Regions from separate parts of the Homo sapiens genome. Here regions 1 and 2 are each linked to region 3. The links are contacts of gene promoters, found by promoter capture Hi-C in blood cells and fetal thymus (Javierre and others, 2016). All regions are on one chromosome and are shown on one strand. The core of a region is centred on a gene start or on the middle of the fragment in contact, and the rest is flanking DNA. Distances in the headings are between cores, read along the strand shown. Region 1 overlaps IGF2R (insulin like growth factor 2 receptor). Region 2 overlaps IGF2R (insulin like growth factor 2 receptor). Region 3 holds the start of PNLDC1 (PARN like ribonuclease domain containing exonuclease 1).

Region 1 (3,938 bases), core at 178-2,677, 300 kb before region 3:
TTAAAGGCAAAATTATAGAAGCATCATCGAGTGGAAGTCTTATTTGGTTGGAGGTGCTTGGCTGTCCCGCGGCTCCGTGCTCCCCTGCAGGCACTGCGGAGTCAGATGTGTAAGAGGTCCTCGTCGCTGTCGTCATGGAAGGACACCAGCTTGGTGGAGCTCACTGTCTTCTGCTGTGCAGAGCTGGACTTCCCTTTCCTCGCCTTCTCACCCCTGACCAGCCCCACCCTATCGTCCTCACGCTCCTGAAGGGCATTGCTCTGTGCGTTTCTCACTGGGTGGGAGCTCTCTGCCCCAGCTCCCCTGCCCGAGTGAACTTTCACCTCTGGGATGGTCAGAACCTCATCCTCACTGTCCTGGTCATCCCCATGCAGGGAGCTGAGGGCTTTCACTGACTTGGTGGTAATATGGCCGTTCTCCTGCCCTTCCTTTCCCTGCCGTGGAGGAGGCAGCTGGATCTCTTCCATCAGCCACTCTGTTTCATTCTCATCTGTCTCTTCTTCCTTATTCACCTGCCAGGGATCAACAGCAGAGACCACGTGAGCCCCCTAAGAGACCCCATTCTGCTCCACCATCCACCACATCAGGGATGCTCTCTGCTGGCACGAGCTGGGGAAGAACTGGCCCACTGTCCTCACAGTCACTGCATCTCCAGTTCCCAGGGAAAGGAAGACGAGGGCTGGCAACACCTTCCTGTTCCTAATGAGACTGCACCAAGGCAGGAGGGTTTGGGAGGGTGGCAGTGGGGTCATTTGGCAGGAGTCTCACAGCCAAGGGTGGGACCAAGCAGAAGGCGTTCGGGATGGCCTGGACCGAAAAGCAGACCAGTGATCCCCCAGCGCAGCTGGGGGAGAAGGGGCTCTTCCGGGCTACTCATAGACTGAAAGGTGCCCACTGCATGGCAGGGGAGGAATGTCAAAGGAGGGACTCCAGTCAAAAGCCTAGTTTTAGAGAGCAATTCATCATTACCCATCGAGACCACAAACATTATGTCCTTTGATCCAGATAATGCCTCTTTTCTGCAAATTTACCTGAAAGAAATCATCCAAATGCTACATGCACAACTATCTTCACTACTGTGTGTGTGTGTGTTTTGTTTTTTTTTTAAAGAACAGCCAAAAACAGTGGAAACAACCTAATTATTAAATACTTCAAGGAAATCAGTTGTAACCACGAGAGAAACTTGAGGGAAAAAAATAACAAAAAAATGTGCTGGCGTAAGTGGCTGAGGCAACGGGTGTTGCTTTCCTTTCTGGATTCCAGTCAGCCTGTGACTGCTTTCCTTGGCACCCCTGATGAGAACGACATGGACAGCGCAGCACAGGGGGCCGGGGAGGCAGGCCTTCAAGAGACTCGCCACAGAAAATTACCTTTGAGTATTTGTAGGACACGTTGGAACTTCTCCTACAGCAAGTGGTCAGCTTACTTATCACTGTTTCCCTATAAAAAAAAAGGAGACAATAATTACTCCAGTGTAGAGAGGGCATGGGCAGGAGCCCCACCCCCGCCAGCCCCACCCCCATCTGCACCACCAGGGGGCTGGTGGTGGCTGCATTTCTCCCACATTCTGAATGACAAATGAGTAGCCGTGACAGGTTATATATACCCTAATGTATTTGTTGTGATTGAGTGGAAAGAAGATGGGCTTTGGAATCCAACAGCAGAGGGCCCTCTAGAGCAACTTAACATTAGGGCAAGGACTTTTTCACATGACTAACAGGACCACACCAGTCCGTCGCCACTAAGCCTGCCCAATGGTGGCTCGCAGAGACAGACATCACATGCCCTTCCCGGCCCAGACCTTCTTCTGCCCCATTCTGCATTTTGGGTGTAGAGGGCCACAATCGGTACTTTTTTTTTTTTTTTGGACAGAGTCTCACTGTGTTGCCCAGGCTAGAGTGCAGTGGTGAGATCTTGGCTCACTGCAACCTCCATGGTTGGTACTTTCTGACCACCTCTCTCATTGGCCTGTGGCTCAGCTGGCAAATGACAGTGGCAGCAGGGAACGCCTGAGCTGGCCAGCTCCTGCCCCCAGGTCAGAGCCACTAACACTGACGCCTGACGTGAAAATCTGCTTGACCGTCACATGGAGAGTCCTTTCACCCAGCAAAGTGGCGCAAAAGGATGGCATCATACCTGGTACATAGCAGGCGCTTAATAAACTCCTGCATTTATGATGTGAGGAGGGCAGAGGGGTCAGCTGCTCAGTGGGAAAAGGCACCCATGAAAGGTGCCGTTTAATGTTCTACTCATCTTTGGACACAAAGGACCACGGTCCTAGAAGCCGCAGGCACGGGTGATGTGCGAGGGCCTCGGCCTTGGTCAGACAGAAATGCAGGCATTTAAAAACCACAACGCTGGGGACTGCTTCCAGAGAGTTTTGGACTAAGAACCTCGAGCCTTCGCTGCTGTAGGGCTTAAAAACAAATAAATAAAACCCCACAAAACTGACCCCAAGATTAGCTATGGGAGGCATGCATCCACCCGCCCCACCTCGCCCTGCCACCCGCTTACCTCCTCTCCTTCTTGTAGAGCAACAGGGCCAGCAGGCAGCAGGTGAGCGCCACCAGCAGCAGGCTGAGCACCGCGCCGACTGCCTGGCTCCGTTCTGACAGCCCCTTGTGCATCTGCCCGTCGTCCCCGGGATTCTCGCTGTCAAAGCCCACCCTGCAAGGACGTCACAGAAAAGGAGCCGTGTCACAGGGTGGTCCTGCTGCCACAGCCACAACCTGAGACCTGAGTCCCCAAGGCAAGAGCAGCTCTGACTTTCCCAACACCATGTGATTCTTACTCCTGCCCAGAAAACAAGGCCACAAGTCCCACTCCACATGGAAGAGGGCTGCAAAAAGTTCCTGATGATGAGTTTGTGGCAGGGTTGTCAGAAAGCAGACAAGAAGGCACTGCTTCCAGCTCCATGAACTATCATTCACCCAAACACAGAGGAGACAGGCAGGAGGGACGCGGCCCCCTCTAGGTGGCCCAATCCACGGCAGGACTAGGCTGGGGCAGAGGCTGTCCCGAAGCACCACACTTCTCTCCAGGGTCAGAGCTCTTTCCTCTCAGAATTTCTTCTGGAAGCAGTGAGCGCAGCCCACCATGAGACACCATCTCCACACGAAAGGGGCCCAGGGGGCCTTAGAAACAGGCCAGGACGGGGCCCAGGGGCGGCCACAGACCAGGGTGGGGCCCAGGGAGCAGCAGAGCCCAGCACAGCCCCCGACGGGTCTCCTCTCTCCAAGCCTGCTCCATCCCAGGAGAAGGCTCTTGAGCACACCAGCTGCCTCACCAGCGGAGTTCACCATTCCCACCCAAGACCCACATGCACACTTGTGGGAAAAAGCAGTGCGTTTCCATGACATCGAACACTCAAGCAGAGTTGGGACAATAATAGAAAATGAGAAACAACCACGGAGACTTCCCTTTGCGCTTAGGGAGCAAGATGACACTCAAGAGTGTAACGACTTGACACTTCTAATCTCTCTGGCCCTCTGTCACTTGGGGCCACACACACAGGAACAGGATCACATAAACAGAAATTCCTCCTGTGCTGCTGGTGATAAGAGGCAACCCCAGCGGGGCGCATCTTGTGCTGCTGAAGATGCCGGCTGCTCAAAGAACTGAGGTTGAGGGCAACAGGCCAACCCGCGGCCCAGCCGCAAGGGCTGCCGCTCTCAAAGTTCAGCTTAAGCCAAACAATCTAAAACATCAGCAAGACAAGAAACCACAGGGACAGCCTGGCGTCCAGTTCTAGGTGGGCCTGCAAGGGTTGACCTCTGCTCAGAAAGAAGCACCACCACACTCCACAGACAGGTCTGAGAGCTATGCAGACCTCTCCCTCCAAGCCAGAAACCCACTCACCCAGAAGCAGCTCCAGCCACTCAGGACCACTCGAAATGCATCCAAGAGACACATCATCACTCAGTTCTAAGCGTATTTTA
Region 2 (3,960 bases), core at 311-2,810, 260 kb before region 3:
TGACTAATCTAATCCCCTGCACCCAAGACCACTAATTATTAAAGCAAAATCATACCAAGTTAGTCTGTCCAAAAGAGACAACACATCCATGGACTTACTTGAATGAACATTCAGTCAGATCGAAAGGTGGGCAGGCATACTGCGTTCGCCACTCAAACAAGTAGGAACAATCTGAAGTCTCCTTTAGAAATACTGGCTAAAAAAGTTAAGAGGCACATATATAAAAGTGAGAATGCAAAACTTTAGTTTATACTTTGAGTTTTAAGAATGAAAATAGTAAAGAATGGTTACGTTCATGAAAATCAATACTAACTGATGAAAGTTTCAACATATTTTCTGTAAATGGTTATTTTAAACTCAGTTAACCAGGAGATTTGATGAGATCTGAGGACAGATTCTTTCTAATATGATCCCAGCAGCCTGAGGGTGGGGAGAAGACCCCGCTGAGGGCCGTCGGTACATGCTCACCCGCTGGGTGCCGCGGTCACAGTAGAAGAAGATGGCTGTGGAGCGCTGATAAACCTTATGGCAAGTGTCCCCCCCCGTGAAGTTCATTTTTAACAAGCCATTTTCATAAGTTAGCTTCTGAGTCAGGAGACCTGTAAAGAAGGAGAACATTAAACAAGGTTTGGTTCGGGTCCCTAGGCTGTCAAACTTAGCCTAAGACATGTGACACCACACACCCTGAAGAGTGTGAGACAAAGTATCCCTGGCCTCCCAGCACCATACCATGCACTCCTGTCACATTACACTTTGGGAATAAAATCAGGCTTCCCCTTGTCCAAGGCTGCTGCAACGTCACAGACTGACCCGTGTATGATGACATGAGGCATTCCTTAGCCTCATCACCTAAGGGAATGTCACTTTCTCCACTGTGCCTGAGGGCTGTCCACGTACTCACCACCAGCTACTTTGACTTCATTTTTACAAGTTCCTAAATGTATTTAAATCTTGCCCAACTGCTGAAACAGCATGAATGACCAACAGCGTGCCCTGTAATTTCTACAGCCAAACCTCGTACTAAATGCATTCCCTGTGACTCAATGCTATCAAGTACTACCCCAGAACATCCAACACTGGCTAGCTCACTGTGTCCCAACGTTGTAATAAAGAAGAGAAATATGACCTTAGAGTCAGTAACTGGCATGGCTAACTAAGAATAAAATAGACATGCTCTACCAACATCCTTCAGTATGTACTCTGTTTAAGAAAATCAAGCAAAATCCGAAATATCATTAATATGCTTTTTTTTTTTTTTACAGTAGAACACTCATGTTTCTGACTCAAGGGAAAATTCATCTTCAGCAAAATATTTTAATATTTTAATTCCATTCCTTTGCAACAAAAGGAAAACGACAAACAATGGTACCTGCCACTTTGTGAAATCCCTGCGGTTCCCGCTTTTCCTGACATGAGGAGACCACCTTGGACTTGTCACTTGTGGGGCAGACGTCTGAGGAAAGCTTCCCACAGACCCGGAAGTAATAAGTGTATTCGCCAGCGCTCACGATGGTGTCGTTGAGGCCCAGGGGCTTCAGGTCATACAAGTTGCCATGCCTTGGGTCTTTCACCTCACAGTTGTCCCCTTCAAGAACATGGAAGAAGTGAAGGGCAACTGCAACCACACACGCATTCACATTTTCAAGCAAAAAGCTTTACAAATGGCCGGGCGCAGTGGCTCACGCCTGTAATCCCAGCACTTTGGGAGGCTGAGGCGGGTGGATTACTAGGTCAAGAGATCTAGACCATCCTGGCCAACATGGTGAAACCCCGTCTCTACTAAAAATACAAAAATTAGCTGGGCATGGTGGCAGGCACCCTGTAGTCCCAGCTACTCAGGAGGCTGAGGCAGGAGAATCACTTGAACCCAAGAGGCAGAGGTTGCAGTGAGCCGAGATGGCGCCATTACACTCCAGCCTGGCAACAGAGCAAAACTCGGTCTCAAAAAAAAAAAAAAAAACTTTTACAATTTTTGGTTAGGTAAATACCAGCTATAAATGGGCATTAAAAGCCATTTCCACATGATTTTGTTTATATATAATACAAATCGCCTGGCAAACAGCTTTCTAGGAAAGTCTAGGTCCCCGAATAAAGACTTGCTTCATCAAACAACACAAAACCAAACCCCACATTAGTGTCTTCAAGCATCAGACGCCAAAATCCCATCAATCCAGGCACACAAGGAAAATGTCACTCGTGAAATTAGCAATATGCTTCAGTAAAAAAAAAAGCTCAAGGAAAAGAAATTATCCTCCCCCTAGCGTGTGTCTCATGACCCCAGCTATGGCTGTTATCACACGGTCTCATATCTAAGGCATCGTTCAGAACGTCTGCTACTCTATACATTTAAAATGACTTGTAGGGACAGGCCCAGTCCTACCTTCCACTCTGACAACGGGACAGGCTTCCACAGTTCTCCAGATAAACACGTACTCACAACCATCCTGAAGCTGAAATGCTGGTGAGCCCTGTAATATAAATCAGCAGCCTGATTTGTTTCCTGTTTATTTTAAAAATTAATCAAATGGGGCCGGGCACGGTGGCTCACACCTGTAATCTCAGCACTTTGGGAGGCCGAGACGGGTGGATCACAAGTTCAGGAGTTCAAGATCAGCCTGGCCAAGATGGTGAAACCCCGTCTCTACTAAAAATACAAAAGTTAGCTGGGCGTGGTGGCAGGTGCCTGTAATCCCAGCTACTCGGGAGGCTGAGGCAGGAGAATCACTTGAACCTGGGGGGCGGAGGTTGCAGTGAGCCAAGATTGCACCACTGCACTCCAGCCTGGGTGACAGAGTAAGACTCCATCTCAAAAAAAAAAAAAAAAAAAAAAATTAAATAAATGATAGCCACAGTTAGTACCCAATCTTTGACCTCCATGTGCAAACTACGTAACATTTATTAAACATTTAAGACCTGAAGAAATGAGTGCATTCTCGTCAAACCCTAGCAATGGCTGAAACTCCACGAAAACACAGGCAAGTTTTAAACAAGATAGAAGATTCAGAGGTTCAAGGGAAATGGGAAATGGAGTCACCCGGGGACAACATCTCATTGCTGGTCTGAACACACACCGATATCTGAGCACACTCAAACGTGATCCTGGTGGAGAAGCGCTGGTTCCCACACTTGTCACCGTTGACATACATGATGCTCAAAGATCCATTCGCCGCGGCTTGGGGACTCATCTGCACCACACCCAGATTCCAGCTATTGCCTTCTGACACTAAGCAAGACCCCACTGCGCTGCCTGGAAGAACAGAATAAGTGGTTTGGGCATGAGGAAGGCGATGACCTTGAGTCAAATGCTCTAATAAAATGAACAGACGCCAATCAAGAGACCAAGGAGAACTCACCCTGGCATCCAGGAATGTAAGGGAGAGGATTGCAAACGCTCAAATAGAAAGTCCTCTTTCTCCCATCGACAGAGGTGTCAACAGCCGTCCAAGGTTTCCTGACTGTGCTTAGGCCAGTCAGGTCGTACTCATTTCCAGCCAGGTCTGAAACACAACAAAAAACCACGCTGGAGAACTCTGCCTCCTTGTGAGCACTCAAGAACTGCCTTTCACCCTAAATAAGCCCTGAGGAGGCGTGAACCTGGCATTCCTAACTGTGAGGATAAGGAAATCCACGGGAGGCTGAGAGGCTTTGCCTACAAAACACACCCACTCTGTCCCTCAAAACTGCCCTTCACAGCCGGGCCTGGTGGCATGCGCCTGTAGTCAGCTACTTTGGAGGCTGAGGCAGGAGGATCACTTAGGACCAGGAGTTCAAGGCCAGCCTGGGCAACATAGTGAGTCCCTAAAGACTCTTTAAAGAAAAAAGCCAAACCCCCACTGCCCTTGACAAGGAAGTACCACTGTTGCAGAGCAGGCAGGGTCAATCCCAGAGGTCAAGGTCTCCTGTATACACTGTCAGCTTCCAGGGCACAGCTTAGGGAGTTTAACATCTTTTTCTTTTTTT
Region 3 (3,865 bases), core at 38-2,537:
ACGTGCTAGTATCACTTGAGCCCAGGAAGTCTAGGCTGCAGTGAGCTAAGACTATGCTACTGCACTCCAGTCTTGGTGACAGAGCAAGACCCTGTCTCAAAAAATAAAATAAAAATCGCACACACACAGTTTTACTTGAAAGAGTAACAGTGAGTGTTCCTTAATACTGACTTATTTAAGCACGGAAACAATGCTGCTAAATTTGGTTTGCTCCGAAGTGTTGATTTCCATATGTATACAATGGCCCAACACAAAACAAGCATACAAAACGATACTCAATATCCTTGAAAAATCTCAGAGCTGTTTTTACAGTAGGAAATCCAAGGACAATAAAAATACCTTCTTGAAAAACTCTAACAGCTGATATTAAACTCACCAATCTGACAGACTGTAAATTGCTGAACACTCTGACGGGTCTTTAGATACCACTCCGATGGCAAATCAAAAAGACTGTGAACAAACAGGCATCTCATTCCACGAGCAATGACATCCCATCCCGGCACTATGGCCTCCGCGGCAGGACCACCACTCGCAACCGGGGAGGATTTTTTCCTTGTTACAACAACTAGGGAGCACTACCATCATTTAGTGGACAGAAAAAAGCAAGGTCCTCCAACACGTAGGAGCAAGCCACACAAAACGTCCTGCCCCCCAAATGCCAACAGGCTGCTGGCCAGAAACAGTGCTGGTCTGGCCAGGCTCTTATACAGAGGGGACACAGCTTTAGTTTTACCTGATCTGCTGGGGCCCAGACAGGTTAGAACGAAGGCCCGTGAACTCTATGTCCAGACCTGCCAGGAAGGCAAAAAATAGCAGTCCTCGGGTGCAGAACATCGCCAGCACTCCTCACACTGTAGATCTGCAGGCGGCCAAGGCACCCGCGCTCACCTCTGCGCTCAAGAAGCCAAGTGAGGTCAGGAAGGGAAAATGGAGGAACCAAGGCAAGGAGCAGCCAGGCACCTGGGCGCACGGGGCTCTGGCCAACAAGGGACGTGGGGCTCGGAGTGTACTTGCTGCTCAAAGTCCCACCGCCCCGGGGCTGGAGAAGGAAGCCCCCCTGTCCTTCCCGAGGCCCTCTCTGAGGCCCTGTGGCCTGGCAACCGTCCCGCCACCCCCTCCTCAAGCTCGCCCGGGGCAAGGGGCTCTGTCCGGCACAGCCGCGAATCCCAGGCTCTTCACCCACGAAGTCGGCCTCCTGGACGAGCTCCTGCAGCAGAGGGAGGCTCTCCTCGAACTCGTCGGCGCCCACGTCCATGGCCGTGCAGCTCCGCGGAGTCGCCCAGCGCTATCACGTGCTGCCCACGTGCTGCCCACGCGCTTCCGTCGCGCCGCCGGGTCTTAAAGGGCGCACACATGGAAACCAGGCAGCTGCCTCCGCCCCACGTGCCCAGCTTCCCCGTGTGCTGCTGGCGTCGCCCACACCTGCCTGCGGGTGTTTTAATTGTACGATTTGCTACAGAGGTTTGATTGCAATTGCAATCAAAGCCTGTTTACCTGGCTCCTCAGCAATTTCTTTGCAGCCCTTAACGTGAGAATGTCATTTACATGGACTTAGAATGTTAAGAGGCGTGGCAGGAGACGAAGACAGAGTCCAGAAAGGGTGAAATCAGAAAAGCGGAGCAGGAACAACACCGGACGCAACTGCAATAAGCAGATCCTTTGCTGCGGCTCACGGTCTTCTAAATCACCTCTTCCCAACTTCTCCATCACTGCCAGTATGTCTGTCCCCATTCCCTCTCCCACGCCCCTGGACATCTTTTTCCTCATTCTGCTGTCCACCTTACCACTGTCTTCACACCTGCAATCAAACTTTGCAAAGCCTCAAGAACTGCCCATTAAATTGAAGGAATCCTTGGTCCCCAGGGATTATCTCGTGCACTCACTCCTTGCGGAAATCCCTACCTACATCATCACATACATGTGAGCTTAATTTTTACTTTTGTTACTGTTTCCAGTGCAACTAGTCCATGGTCTTCCTTACAGTGTCCTCCCTTGAATTCTAGGCTTCTACTTGAACAGCGTTTTGGAACTATGGTCCTCAAAGTGAGGTGCTCAAATCAATCTTTAAGGTTAGCGGAGAAAACATTACCGTTATACTTTATTTTTTCCTTTTGAGACAGTCTCACTCTGTCACCCAGGCTGGAGTGCAGTGGTGCCATCTCGGCTCTCTGCAATCTCCACCTCCTGAGTTCAAGCGATTCTCCCGCCTCAGCCTCTGAACAGCTGGGATTACAGGCATGCACCACCACGCCCAACTCATTTTTGTTTTTAGTAGAGATAGGGTTAAACCGTATTGGCCAGGCTGGTCTCGAATTCCTGGCCTCAAGTGATCCACCTGCTTCAGCCTCCTAAAGTGGTGGGATTAGAGGTGTGAGGCACTGCATCCGATCTTCAATTATACTTTTAAATGCCTCTCCGGGACATTAATTAAGCAAAAGGGGACTATTAAGCCATTTGATTCTGAAGACCTCTCAGAACAAATCATACTTCATACAGATGTGTTCCATTTAAAATAACACATTGAATACTCAAATTGGCAGAAGTAACATATTTCACTTCTAAACAAACATTTAATTGGGGTATACATTAAAAAAACTGGAAAACAATGCTCTAGAAGCCACCTTAACTGCCTACAGGTTTTTTCTCACATTTATCAAATAGCCAAAAATTAACACCTTAATCAGCTCCTTTCAGAGAACTGCCATGATTCCCATCTACCCAAGCTCAAATTTTAGATTAACTTGCATGCATTTCAAGTTTCATCTCCTATCTAATAAAATGTTCACTTCATGGCAAATTGAGCGCCCACTAACCCCAACCATTTCCACCTCTGCTTTCAGCTCCTGATGCCACCTCCTTCCTCTTTCAAATTTGTTTCTCTTACTGTTGGGAACCAAGAGTCCAAGTGAGGTTGGCATTTGGTCCTTTCATTTTCACATACTGACTGTTCTATAGTATTAGATTGATACTGACATTTCCTATTTTAAAAAACAACCCACACTCCGAGCAGCAAACAACTGTCATTCACTGAGATCACTCGCCATGAACTAGACACAGTAATAAGTGCTTTACATCAACCTCATATGTGCTCCACTGCCACAGTGAGCTCAGACAATGTCATATAACCAGAAAATAAGAGTTCATAATATGCCTTTATTTTGTAATTTATAAACAACTTCTGACTTGCCCTTTGAAAGTTAATTATAATTGATGACTGCTTTTCTTAGATGCTTCTGAAGCCCAAGAGAGGGGCAGAACGTAGTTCTTGATTTAAAAAAACAGAAAGGGGAGGAGGATGACCTTAACTACAAATAATATTCCACTGCAACATTATTGCTGTAAAACTTCCAAGCTGGCTGTTCTTCCAGATGCTCTCTTTTGATGGCTGTAGTGGCTGACAGATTTATATTTACATGTTCAAAACAATTAATGCTTCCATTTATTCATAGATTCTCTGAGGTTCCCGTAGAACCACACCACCTTCTGTCATGGCACTTTGTAGTCGTTTCATCTGGTTTTGAAAATCAGAAAAAAAAGGAAAAGATTAAGTCAGCAGCACGAGTAGGCTGAAAATACTTTCACCTTCCAAAAGACAGAAATAAATTGATTTGTTCTTGCTAACTTCCCAGCCTACAACGGTTTTTCAGAAAGTGATCTTAATAATGATGTAAGTAAAAAGGAAATGTAGAGATGTCAAGGTTCAGCAGCATTTCAAAATATTATATGGACAAGATGTCAATATATGAACAGGAAATACAGTGGCTGACATCATGGACTACAGAATCAGTCACCCTGGGTTTGAAATCCACCATACACTGACTCTGGGCAAGTAAGCCTCAGTTTATTTCTGTATAGAATGAGAGTA

The links. Contacts are between HindIII fragments. The CHiCAGO score rates a contact against its expected background, and 5 or more counts as called.
Region 1: a contact is called between a fragment that was not itself captured here and the fragment with the promoter of PNLDC1 in region 3, in 1 of 17 cell types (neutrophils). The highest score is 5.2, in neutrophils.
Region 2: a fragment that was not itself captured here is called in contact with the fragment with the promoter of PNLDC1 in region 3 in 1 of 17 cell types (total CD8 T cells); the score reaches 5.5 in total CD8 T cells.

The regions. Positions count from the first base shown.
Region 1 is chr6:160,101,248-160,105,185 of GRCh38, reverse strand. It overlaps IGF2R (insulin like growth factor 2 receptor), which reads right to left. Exons shown (of 48, transcript NM_000876.4): 46 at 2,515-2,667; 47 at 1,371-1,440; 48 at 1-512. The coding sequence ends at 102. Among named protein-coding and RNA genes, the nearest start is that of SLC22A1, 19 kb to the left of the region's middle. The HindIII fragment of the contact is 6,206 bases long and covers 1-3,938 here.
Region 2 is chr6:160,061,040-160,064,999 of GRCh38, reverse strand. IGF2R (insulin like growth factor 2 receptor) reads right to left here. Exons shown (of 48, transcript NM_000876.4): 24 at 3,354-3,497; 25 at 3,072-3,247; 26 at 2,381-2,468; 27 at 1,370-1,585; 28 at 469-599; 29 at 99-196. Among named protein-coding and RNA genes, the nearest start is that of AIRN, 55 kb to the right of the region's middle. The HindIII fragment of the contact is 190 bases long and covers 1,466-1,655 here.
Region 3 is chr6:159,797,698-159,801,562 of GRCh38, reverse strand. It overlaps PNLDC1 (PARN like ribonuclease domain containing exonuclease 1), which reads right to left and starts at 1,287. Exons shown (of 19, transcript NM_001271862.2): 1 at 1,180-1,287; 2 at 734-791; 3 at 377-450. The coding sequence starts at 1,255. It overlaps MRPL18 (mitochondrial ribosomal protein L18), which reads right to left. Exons shown (of 4, transcript NM_014161.5): 4 at 3,134-3,511. The coding sequence ends at 3,440. The HindIII fragment of the contact is 10,328 bases long and covers 1-3,865 here.